4 separate regions of the Homo sapiens genome follow, and all the other regions are linked to region 3. The links are contacts of gene promoters, found by promoter capture Hi-C in blood cells and fetal thymus (Javierre and others, 2016). All regions are on one chromosome and are shown on one strand. Each heading gives the region's core, a stretch centred on a gene start or on the middle of the fragment in contact. The rest is flanking DNA. Distances are from core to core; before and after follow the strand shown. Region 1 has its middle 10 kb from the start of RNASE10. Region 2 has its middle 5.1 kb from the start of TRY-GTA5-3. Region 3 holds the start of METTL17 (methyltransferase like 17). Region 4 holds the start of EGILA (EGFR interacting lncRNA).

Region 1 (2,700 bases), core at 74-2,573, 490 kb after region 3:
TTACTGACCCACATACTCCAACTAAGAATTCAGAAACTCTTACCTCCTTTCTTACTTTTTATAACAGTATAGTTATCTGAATAGGTTCAGCAAGAATCTTTTCTCTTTTTTGCCAGGATATAACAGAAAAACAGTTACACAACCAAGGTGTGGGCCAGAATGTCACTTTTGAGAATGGTGCTCCTTTAATCAGCTTTGATGAGCCAATGCCTACAAAATCCTCTCAGAAAAACCCACCTGGGATCTGGCTTACAGAGTCCCAGTCTTGCAGGAGGTGAGGAAGGTCACTTCCTAGTTCTTGGTTCCTTACCTTCTTGGCAGGTAAGAAACTTCAAGAAAATATGAGAAACTTGAGAAGAAAGAAATTCATCCAAATGTATAGGTACTGTGGGTAAAAATCTAGTGGAAAGAGATTCTTGAGCTTGGTTTTTCTAACCTCACAACAGCAAATAATAGAGGCTTTTAAAAGTCAGTCTGAGATTTCTTAAGGAAACTTCTAGAAAGAAGTTCATTCTGTGGCCTTGTGAATAGTATATGGCTCTAGATTTACGAAGCAAACTTAAGAAGGCCTATATGGTAAATAAAACTCTTCCACCTGTGGAAATAATCAGGCCAAACCGTCAGGATTGCCCTTTTACTTATCTTCCAGCACACTGAGCTGAGAGCTTCCTATGCCATCTCTCTTCTTGTCCTCAGTGCCAAGCAAAGTGTGTGGAACAATGAAGGTAGTCAACAACATTTATGAGAAGAATAAATATCAGGTTGTGAAATAGCTTTCGCACCTGATTCCAACTGTGAGGCGGCAATGGAGAGCCAGGGAGGCAGGCAGAGGCACTGAACTCATCAAGCTTGGTTTCCTCTGCCCAGCCTCAAGTTGTACCATGGGGAGACAGAGACTCCATTAAAAATAAACTCACAATTAACTTTAAAATACTGCAGCAATAAACAAATAAGTAAAAATAACAAAATAAGGAGAAGAGATGAAACAAGATGAGCAAAATGTTGATTACTGTTGAAGCTGCATGTAATGGGCACTTGGGGATTAAATCATATGCTTCTTTCTAATTTCAGTGCATGTTTAAAAATTTCCATAATGGAAAGGAGAAGAAAGGAAAGGAAAAGGAAGGGAAAGGTAAAGGAAAGGAAAAGGAAGGGAAAGGAAGGGAGGGGAGAGCAGGGAGAGGAAGGAAGAGGAGGGGAGGAAAGGGCAAGGGAAAGGGAGGGGAAGGGAGGGAAAAGGGAGAAGCGGGGAGGGGAGCGGAGGGGAAGGAAGGGAAGGGAGAAAGGAAAGAAAAGAAAAGAAGAAAAGAAAAAGAAAGGAAAGGGGAAAGGACAGGAAAGAGGAAAGGAGAAAGGAAAGGAAAAAGGAATGAAAAAAAAGAAAGAACAGGAAAGGAAAGGAAACTTGAAGGGGAAGGAAATTACAAAAAGGAAGTCTGCTGGCTTTGTAAGGAAGGGGGTAATGAGTAAGTTCAGGCAGTTTTGTTTCATTTTGGGTATTTGCACCAGTATTCGAGGTGTCCCAATCAGAGTGACTCATCTTGAATAAAGGCCAGATGAAGCCAAACCTGCTGGGTTACTTTCCCAGGAAATTGGGCACTGTTAATCACAAAATGTTTATGGTTGAGGAAATGAGTTGATGGAAAAAGGCATTCTTAGTTTAAAAATGGGTTTCTTGGATGGCATGGTGGCTCACACCTGTAATCCCAGCACTTCAGGAGGCCAAGGCAGTTAGATTGCTTGATCTCAGGAGTTCAAACCAGCCATGGGCAATGTCAGGCGTCTGAGCCCAAGCTTGCACGTGTAAGTATCCGGATGGCCTGAAGCAACTGAAGAATCACAAAAGAAGTGAAAACAGTCGATTCCTTCCTTAACTGATGACATTACCTTGTGAAATTCCTTCTCCTGGCTCAGAAGCTCCCCTACTGAGCACCTTGTGACCCCCACCCCTGCCCGCCAGAGAACAATCCCCTTTGACTGTAATTTTCCACTACCTACCCAAATCCTATAAAACAGCCCCACCCCATCTCCCTTTGCTGACTCCTTTTTTGGACTCAGTCCGCCTGCACCCAGGTAATTAAAAAGCTTTATTGCTCACACAAAGCCCGTTGGTGGTCTCTTCACACGGACACACGTGACAGGCAACATGGTAGAATCCTATCTCTATAAAAAAATAAAAATAAAAATTAGCTGGGCATGGAGACTGAGGTGAGAGAATCCAGAGGATCAAAGAGGATCGAGTCAAGGAGGTGGAGGCTACAGTGAGCCAAGATCGCACCACTGCACTCCAGCCTGGGCGACAAGAGTGAAATTCTGTCTTAAAAAAAAAGGTGGGTGGGAGGGTTTCTTGTGGTGGTGAAGGTGTAAGCAAATAAACACATAAAAATAAACATGGGTTTCACTTTAAAGATAATACTACACTCATAAATTATTGCTGAAATCAATAGTTACACCGGAGAATAACAATACTAATAGCCTGTCACAACTTGATCACAAGCCTTTATAATAAAGTAAACTATTCTTTTTTTTTTTTTTTTTTTTTTTTTTGAGATGGAGTCTGGCTCTGTTGCCCAGACTGAAGTGCAGTGGCGCAATCTCGGTTCACTGCAAGCTCCGCCACCCGGATTCATGCCATTCTCCTGCCTTAGCCTCCCGAGTAGCTGGGACTACAGGTGCCCACCACCATGCCCGGCTAATTTT
Region 2 (2,700 bases), core at 1-2,500, 340 kb after region 3:
ATCATTAGCATGTAAGGCTGGAGCCCTCATGAACGAAATTAGTCTTCTTATAAGAAGAGGCCACAGAGCTAGCTAGCTTTTTTTCCTCCATGTGAGGGCACAGAAAGAAGACTGCCCTCTATAAACCAGAAAGAGCCCCACCAAGAACCCCATCATGCTGGCTCTGGGATATCAAATTTCCAGCCTCTAGAATGGTGAGAAACAAATGTTTGTTGTTTACCTATTTATGGTAATTTGTTATAGCAGCCTGAACAAAGACATCCTCTTACTACGAGACTTGGTAATAGCACTCTGTCTTGTTTTCCTATGTGTTAAAAAAGAAAAAGAAAAAGGAAGAAAAGGAAAAAAGGTTAAGTTTTATATTAAAGAATTTGTCATAATGAAAAAGATAGGTTCTGAAATCTGTTAACTCAATCAAATCTCCATAGGCCCAGCACGGTAGCTCATGTCTGTGGTACCAGCATTTTGGGAGGCTGAGGCAGTGGATCACTTGAGGTCAGGAGATTGAGACCAGCCTGGCCAACATGGTGAAACCCCCTCTCTACTAAAAATACAAAAATTAGCCGGTCCTGGTGGCTCATGCCTGTAATCCCAGCTACTCACGAGGCTGAGGCAAGAGAATCGCTTGAACCCGGGAGGCGAAGGCTGCAGTGAGCCGAGATAGCGCCGCTGCACTCCAGCCTGGGTGACAGAGGGAGACTCAACCTCAAAGAAAAACAAAAAAAACAAAAACAAAAAAACTTATTCTAGACTGTGATTCTGTGTTTATGTGTGTTTCTATATTGCCTCCACTCCTTTTGAACCAGAAGGCAGGTTGTTGCTGAGAAAGTTAAGTTCCTCTTGGAATTGGTAGTTCATTATAGTTTTACATTTTCTGGCTCTGAGTAGCCCACATGGTATTTGACATTCTCCAGTGGCTGGCTGGTTAATTTTGTGGAACTAGAGTTTCCATATTCAGGGAAGTATTTCACACCTTTATTAATTTTTAACTGGGAAAATCGTATTCTAAAAATTTAGAGTTTTCTTGAAATAGATGCTTGATTTTCACTACATATTTCTGAGGCTTTTTATTATGAAACATTTCAAACATATTAAAAATAGAGAGAATAGTATAATGAACCACAGTTATAGCTGACATATAGCTCCATGAATTCCCAGTTCATGGCCAAGAAAGTTTTATCTATAGCCCTCACTTTATTTTGAAGAAAATTCCAGATATCATTTCATTTTACTTTAGCTCATTTTTATTTACAAAGTGTCAATTAGATTTTTTGATACAGTTTCCATTACAATATGATTTTTACTTGTAAGGAAAATTGAAGCTAAAGAGATATCAAACAATGATTAAAGCAGACATGTAATTCAAGAATGTTGCAACTCATTCATTCAATAGATGTGTCATTCTAGTAGTCTTCTTGGTTTATACATTTTTCTTTTGTTCTTTATTTTCTGACAGGGAAGGTTTTCCAGGGGAAAAGAAGAAACAAGGTGCAGAACTGTGTAAGAAAGTGTCAAGTAAATAAGTAAACATTTAGTTATTTCCTTGTTTATACACAAAAAACACTGGAAGGAGGCCAATGAACTAATGAAAATGGTTAATTAGGCGAGGGGGATGGGGTGAATAGGAATGTGGGGGACTAGAACTTTTCAATTTATACATTTTTATTTTTGAACCATGTGAGTATGCTTTAAAAATAAATACAATTTTTTCTTCTAACATGGTTTACTTTCATTAAAAAAAACTAGGAAATTCCTATGATCAAGTTAGTTTGAAAGTATTATAAGTGGTCGGTTGCGGTGGCTGATGCCTGTAATCCCAGCACTTTGGGAGGCCGAGGCGGACGGATCACTTGAGGCCAGGAGTTGAGACTGGCCTGGTCAACATGGTGAAACCCTGTCTCTACTAAAACTCCAAAAATTAGCTGGGCGTGGTGGCAGACACCTATAATCCCAGCAACTCGGGAGGTTGAGGCAGGAGAATCACTTGAACCCGGAAGACGGAGGTAGCAGTGAGCCGAAAGTGTTCCACTGCACTCTAGCCTGGGCGGCAACAGAGCAAAAACACTGTATCAAAAAAAAGAAAAAGTATTATAAGCTAAATACCAAAGCCAATGTCAACTGGTCAAATAGCGTTTTTTGTTTTGTTTTGTTTTGTTTTGTTTTGTTTTGTTTTTGATACAGAGTCTTGCTCTGGAGTGTAGTGGCACTATCTTGGCTCACTGCAACCTCCACCTTCCAGGCTCAAGCCATCCTCCTACCTCAGTCTCCCTAGTACTTGGGAATACAGGTGGGCACCACCAGGCCCAGCTAATTTTTGTATTTTTAGTAGAGATGAGGTTTCGCCATATTGGCCAGGCTAGTCTCAAACTCCTGGCCTCTGGTGATCCACCAGCCTTGGCCTCCCAAAGTGCTGGGATTACAGGCCTGAGCCACTGAGCCCAGCCTGTGTGCTTGTTTGTTTTAAACAAATTGTCTGTCTTTGATCTCATCTATTTCTGCAGTTTCCTTAGTCCTTAAGATTTGATTAAGGTTTAAAAACACGTGTGGCTTGGCCGGGCGTAGTGGCTCATGCCTGTAATCCCAGCGCTTTGGGAGGCCGAGGCAGTGGATCACCTGAGATCAGGAGTTCAAGACCAGCCTGGCCACCATGGTGAAACCCCGTCTCTACTAAAAATACAAAAATTAGCCGCGTGTGGTGGC
Region 3 (2,700 bases), core at 131-2,630:
GGTACTGTGAGGTGTGCAGGGAATGCAAGATGAATAAATGGTAGTGTCAAGGAGCTCACAATCATGAAACTAACTTGATGAATTATATTTACCCTCTTATCCCAGAAGAGGGTTTCAGTACTGGGCAGGGACCATCCAGGGACTTTATTTTACCTGAATAAAAACTTAGAAGGTCCTAATCCAGTGGACTTGCAGAAAAAAATAAATATCTAGATTTTAACAGTATATTGGTAGCCAGGCGCGGTGGTTCATGCCTGTAATCCTAGCACTTTGGGAGGCCAAGGTGGGCGGATCACCTGAGGTCAGAAGTTCGAGACTAGCCTGGCCACCATGATGAAACCCCGTCTCTACTAAAAATACAAGTAGCCGGGTGTGGTGGTGCACGCCTGTAATCCCAGCTACTGAAGAGGCTGAGGCAGGAAAATCACTTAAACCCGGGAGGCGGAGGTTGCAGTGAGCCGAGATCGAGCATTACACTTCAGCCTGGGTGACAGAGCAAGACTCTGTCTCAAAGCAAAAACAAAACAACAAAACAAACAAACAAACAAAAAACAGTATACTGGGACATTCTGACCTTTACCTAAGCAATCTCTAAAATAATCTACCTTCTTTTAGTAAGGCATCATTGTAACAACTGCTGCTCTGGTTAGAAAGTCAAATAAGAGACTTCAGTATCTGAGAGATTGTAGAATTATTTCTTACTCTTCATTTCTAACCGATATTTCAATCTCGCCCACTTTTTAATTATTCTTAAGTCCTACCTGGGTTTTCCAGGAATTTTTTCTCAAGATGCCTAGCCCGTCTTTGCAACTCCTCTGGCTCTACAGGCAAATGTCTGCTCCAGAGATAACTGGTCAGTGTTTGCACCTGATTCTCCATAGTGGGCCCAGCGCTCCCTATGGGCCAAAGACGAAAAGCGGAATCACTTGCATGTAGGTCCAGTCCCGTTTCTTCTCGCTTTCCCGCCGTTACTCACCAAGTAGCAATAACTGGGCACCGTTAGCCAGTGCCTGTGGCAGCCGCACGTGCGGCAGCTTTAGGATGCCAGGGTGCTGGCGATGAGGCCTCTTCTGCAGGAAACCGGACTTGTTATCTACCTGGGTCACTCCGGGTACTAAGGCGGCGAGCGCCTGCAGGCAGAGAAAGGTAGGTTGATTTCCTGGCAGAAAGGAAAGTTGCTGGCAATCGCTAGGGCGGGGGCTGCCAGGAGCGCTCCTCCTCTGCGCGGAGATGTCTCTGCAGATCCAGAGTCTCTCCGACAGCAGGGAATGTAGGCACTCACCCGGGCCTGGGGAGCCACTCCAAGGCCGGGGCACCATCTTCCTAATGTCAGTAGACACTTCAGTGCCGCCGCCATGGCTCCGGAGGCGAACCGGAAACGGAAATACAGGTGCCTGTGACCCTCAGTCCCAACGCCGCAAGGAGCAGCCTTCGCAGAACTTCTCCCGACAGTTTCAGCCAACGAGAAGAGCGAGTGTTTGCCAGCAGCCAATAAGCAATGGTTATATAAATAATCCTTGAGGCAGAAACCGTGTTTGGGCCGACTTGAAGGCTGCGTTGGGCCTGGTCACCGGCCCCAGAAATCAAGAGGGTGGGGTGGGGCGGGGCGGGACGGGACGGGGGCGGGATGGGGTTGGGTGTGAGCGCGCCAGCAAAGACTGTTTCTGGGAGTACTGACTTCCTGTGTTCTTTGCATTCCTCCGCGGAGAACTCTGAGTCTTGGGTTGTTTCCCTGTGTGAAAAAGGGAGACTGCAGTAACGGAAAGAAGAGAAAAATCAGATTTAAGCGACTGAAGAAAACAGAAATTAATAGTTAAATGATTATTGAATAGTTAATAGTTTGATAAATATTAAACCTAGTTAATAGGTTTATTTATTTTTTTACATTTGTTAATTTCTCTTCAAATGAGACCAGTCTTCTTAGTAAGCTAACATAACACTTACTGAGAACACCTATGTGCTAGGTACTTCAGGGAAAAGGACTGATCCCCACTTCACAGAAAACATGGTTCTGACGGGGACCCTCCTGTGTCTGCTGCTACGTCAGAGTGTTTCCCCCAGGCCCAGGACTTAGACAGTAGCCGTCTGATTACCTGAGGTGCAGAATCTCAGGTGGGTCCAGCCACTATTGTGACGTGATAATATAGCATAGGGGAATGGTCTCCAGAGTCTGCAAGCTCATCAACACCTTCATTCACTAGAGCATCAGAAGGATAAATGGCATATGCAAGGCGATATCTACTTTCGGGACCTGACAGTGGACAACTGCTACCTCAGTCTCCGAACACTTGAGCTCACCCAGTGTGTGATTTCTGTGGGCTCCTGGCCCCCTAATTTCCGTTACAGGTTTAGGATGTTCTCCCAGCACATCCACTTGACCTGTGTGTGGAACCAGCCAGTTCATCTGGAGGGCTAGACTCCTGAGTCATCAGGCTAGGGCCTGATGATCTCAGGCCCCAGCGCCCTAATTGGACTTTCCTTCTGTGGTTCTCTACCTTATTCGACTTCTTCCCCAAATCTGCAGACCTCACCGACTGCAGCCTGCCAGCTCTCTCAGGGCTCCTCATCTCGGGGTGAGGTGGGGTGAGGAGACATGGGTGGACAGGGGGAGAAGGGCCGCTCTGCCTCTTCCAGGCGGAACCGCCCTTCCTGTAGATGAATGCATGGCCCACTGACACATCCTAGGCTGACACTTGCCTC
Region 4 (2,700 bases), core at 189-2,688, 280 kb after region 3:
TCTTCAGCTCCCTAGTGATGCCCTCATTCAGCAGGAAGTAGCTAGAAAGAAATTGACACCTGATCTCCCATAGAAATGAAACAGGAATTGGCAGTGGGGAGTTTGTAGCTGGAATAATCAGCCTGCTTCAATAATGAATAGCCTCACCCTTTGATTTATTCAGTATCTAGCCGTATCCTTGCTTAAGAAACCCAGGGGCTAATCTTGAAATAAACCGGGCATGAATTTGAGATTGTGGAATCCTACATTCTCAGAAAAATCACTGAGGGGGGTTAATCCATAAGCTAGTTGCAGTCATGGTGATGCCAGCCAGACCTCCAGGTGATCCGTTACTGAAGATAGCCATCAGAGTAAGACATGCAAACCTGCACCCTGCACCACTCCTGCTCATAGTTTCCATGCCTCCTACTTCTTAAAATCCCTTTAGCTAGCCTAAAATTTTGAAATAGTCTTTGAGGCGCTAGTCCACCATCTCCTCAGGTTGCTAGCTCTTGAATAAACCTGCTTTTCCTGCACCAACTCTTGTCTTGCAAGTCTTGCTTTTGAGCAGTGAGCAGTGATCAGCTGACCCTTAGTTTGGTTACACTATCACTCAGGAAATTCCAAGCATTTTAGAAGGTCTGTGGCAGGAACCAGGAACTAAGTTCAAATTTATTTTTTATTATACCACAGGTCCCAACTCCCATGACTACCTGGATGGTGACAAAGACGAATTATCTCTTCATCCTTCTTTCTCACTCTAAATATACACAGACATGCTATTAGGAGGGAAAACTTTCCCTCTACCAACTTTGGTTCAGTGGGTGGGAGCCTGTGAATTAACTATAGACAGGTTAGCAGGGGGAAAGAAAACAAGTTGTATTCATAACTTGTGGAAGCATTCAGATGAAGAGGCTTGATGAAGAGCTAGAGACAGAAGTTTAGTTATCAACTCATAGGGGAAAAGAAGGAGGGAGAAATGACTTCTATAGGAAAACAAATGACTTTTGGGAAAGACAAATAGAAGCTTTGGATAAAGTTTTACACAATTTTCTTGGAATATCTCCTGTCTGGGTGAAGTAATCCTCACACGGTTAACAAGAATCCTGGACAAAAATATAATTATGAGTAAGTGTTAATCAGGCTACACTTTGACCCACTTCCTTGTAACCAAAACTCACGAACACTAGCTACTGATAATTTGCATTCTCATTGTTCCCATAGATAAGATCTTTGACATTAGAATCATAAGGCTTTTGTTTAAGAATTGTTTATGCAGATCCTGAATTCCGGCAGAACAGCTGACACCACCAACTTTAAAGAGCCCAACTGATGAACTGATCAGCATGAGAATACTGTTTTTTCATCTCTCTGTCCCATGACTTCACTCTGCATTCTTCAACCAATTAGTGATCTCTTATTTCCACCTACTCCAAATCCTTAAAAACAACAGCCTCAAACTCTTTGAGGAAATGGATTTGAGGTTTCCTTCCATCTTTTGGTTCAGCAGCCCTGCAATTAAACCTCTTTCTCTGCTGCAACCCAGTGTCTTGGCATATTGACATGCTGTGCACATCAGGCAAAAGACCTATTACCATTACATGAGGACCCCTCCGGAGGGAGATAATGGTGGGGGCATTTCTGGGAGGCTCTGCTTTAGTCAGGTGAGAGAAGTTCAGGTAAGATTTCTTTCTGTATCTGCTGTAATTCAAATGTTTTCAGTTTTGTCAGTTTTGCCCTTAAACATGTGCACACACACACACACACACACACACACACACACTCACACTTCCCTTCTTAAGCAGCTAGCATCTTCATATATCTCTGCTCCTGTCATGTGCGTCCATGTGAAGAGACCACCAAACAGGCTTTGTGTGAGCTATAAAGCTTTTTAATCACCTGGGTGCAGGCAGACTGAGTCCGAAAAAGGAGTCAGCAAAGGGAGATGGGGTGGGGCAGTTTTATAAGATTTGGGTAGGTAGTGGAAAATTACAGTCAAAGTGGGTTATTCTCTTGCAGGCAGGGGCAGGGGTTACAAGGTGCTCAGTGGGGAGGTTCTGAGACTCATTGTCTAGGAGAAGGAATGTCACAAGGTTAATTGATCAGTTAAGGTGGGGCAGGAACAAATCACAATGGTGGAATGTCATCAGTTAAGGCAGGAACTGGCTATTTTCACTTCTTTTGTGGTTCTTCAGTTGCTTCAGGCCATCTGGATGTATACTTGCAGGCTTGGGCTCAGAGGTCTGACATTTCCTGTCTTCTTATATTAATAAGAAAAACAAAACAAAATAGTGGTGAGGTGTTGGAGCGGCAAAAATTTTGGGGGGTGGTATGGAGAGATAATGGGCAATGTTTCTCAGGGCTGCTTCAAGTGGGATTAGGGGCAGCATGGGAACCTAGGGTGGGAGAGATTAAACTGAAGAAAGATTTGGGCATCAAGGGTGATATTGTGGGGTTGTTAGAAGGAGCATTTGTCATACAGAATGATTGATGATGGCCTGAATGCAGTTTTGTATGAATTGAGAAACTGATCAGAAGACACAAGGTCTAAATAAGAGAAGGAGAAAAGCATGTATTAAAGGACTAAAAATTGGGAGGGCTCAGGACATCCAATTAGAGAGTGCCTAAGGGGGTTCAGCATAATTATTTGCTTGGTTGGTGAGTTTTTGGGCGCTATCCTTGAGTTTTTTTTATGTTGTCATATACTAGGCCAGAGTGATT

The links. The method cuts DNA at HindIII sites, captures the fragments that hold promoters and counts their contacts. A CHiCAGO score of 5 or more calls a contact.
Region 1: a fragment that was not itself captured here is called in contact with the fragment with the promoter of METTL17 in region 3 in 1 of 17 cell types (M0 macrophages); the score reaches 5.2 in M0 macrophages.
Region 2: a fragment that was not itself captured here is called in contact with the fragment with the promoter of METTL17 in region 3 in 1 of 17 cell types (monocytes); the score reaches 5.5 in monocytes.
Region 4: a contact is called between a fragment that was not itself captured here and the fragment with the promoter of METTL17 in region 3, in 12 of 17 cell types (monocytes, M2 macrophages, M0 macrophages and 9 more). The highest score is 15.9, in monocytes.

The regions. Positions count from the first base shown.
Region 1 is chr14:20,494,212-20,496,911 of GRCh38, reverse strand. No RefSeq gene overlaps it. Among named protein-coding and RNA genes, the nearest start is that of RNASE10, 10 kb to the left of the region's middle. The HindIII fragment of the contact is 946 bases long and covers 851-1,796 here.
Region 2 is chr14:20,646,703-20,649,402 of GRCh38, reverse strand. No RefSeq gene overlaps it. Among named protein-coding and RNA genes, the nearest start is that of TRY-GTA5-3, 5.1 kb to the left of the region's middle. The HindIII fragment of the contact is 5,518 bases long and covers 1-2,700 here.
Region 3 is chr14:20,988,660-20,991,359 of GRCh38, reverse strand. It overlaps METTL17 (methyltransferase like 17), which reads right to left and starts at 1,380. Exons shown (of 14, transcript NM_022734.3): 1 at 1,283-1,380; 2 at 977-1,130; 3 at 762-896. The coding sequence starts at 1,357. RefSeq lists an enhancer at 804-853 and a silencer at 1,604-1,733. The HindIII fragment of the contact is 15,587 bases long and covers 1-2,700 here.
Region 4 is chr14:20,705,690-20,708,389 of GRCh38, reverse strand. EGILA (EGFR interacting lncRNA) reads left to right here and starts at 1,449. Exons shown (of 4, transcript NR_174964.1): 1 at 1,449-1,643. The HindIII fragment of the contact is 860 bases long and covers 1,009-1,868 here.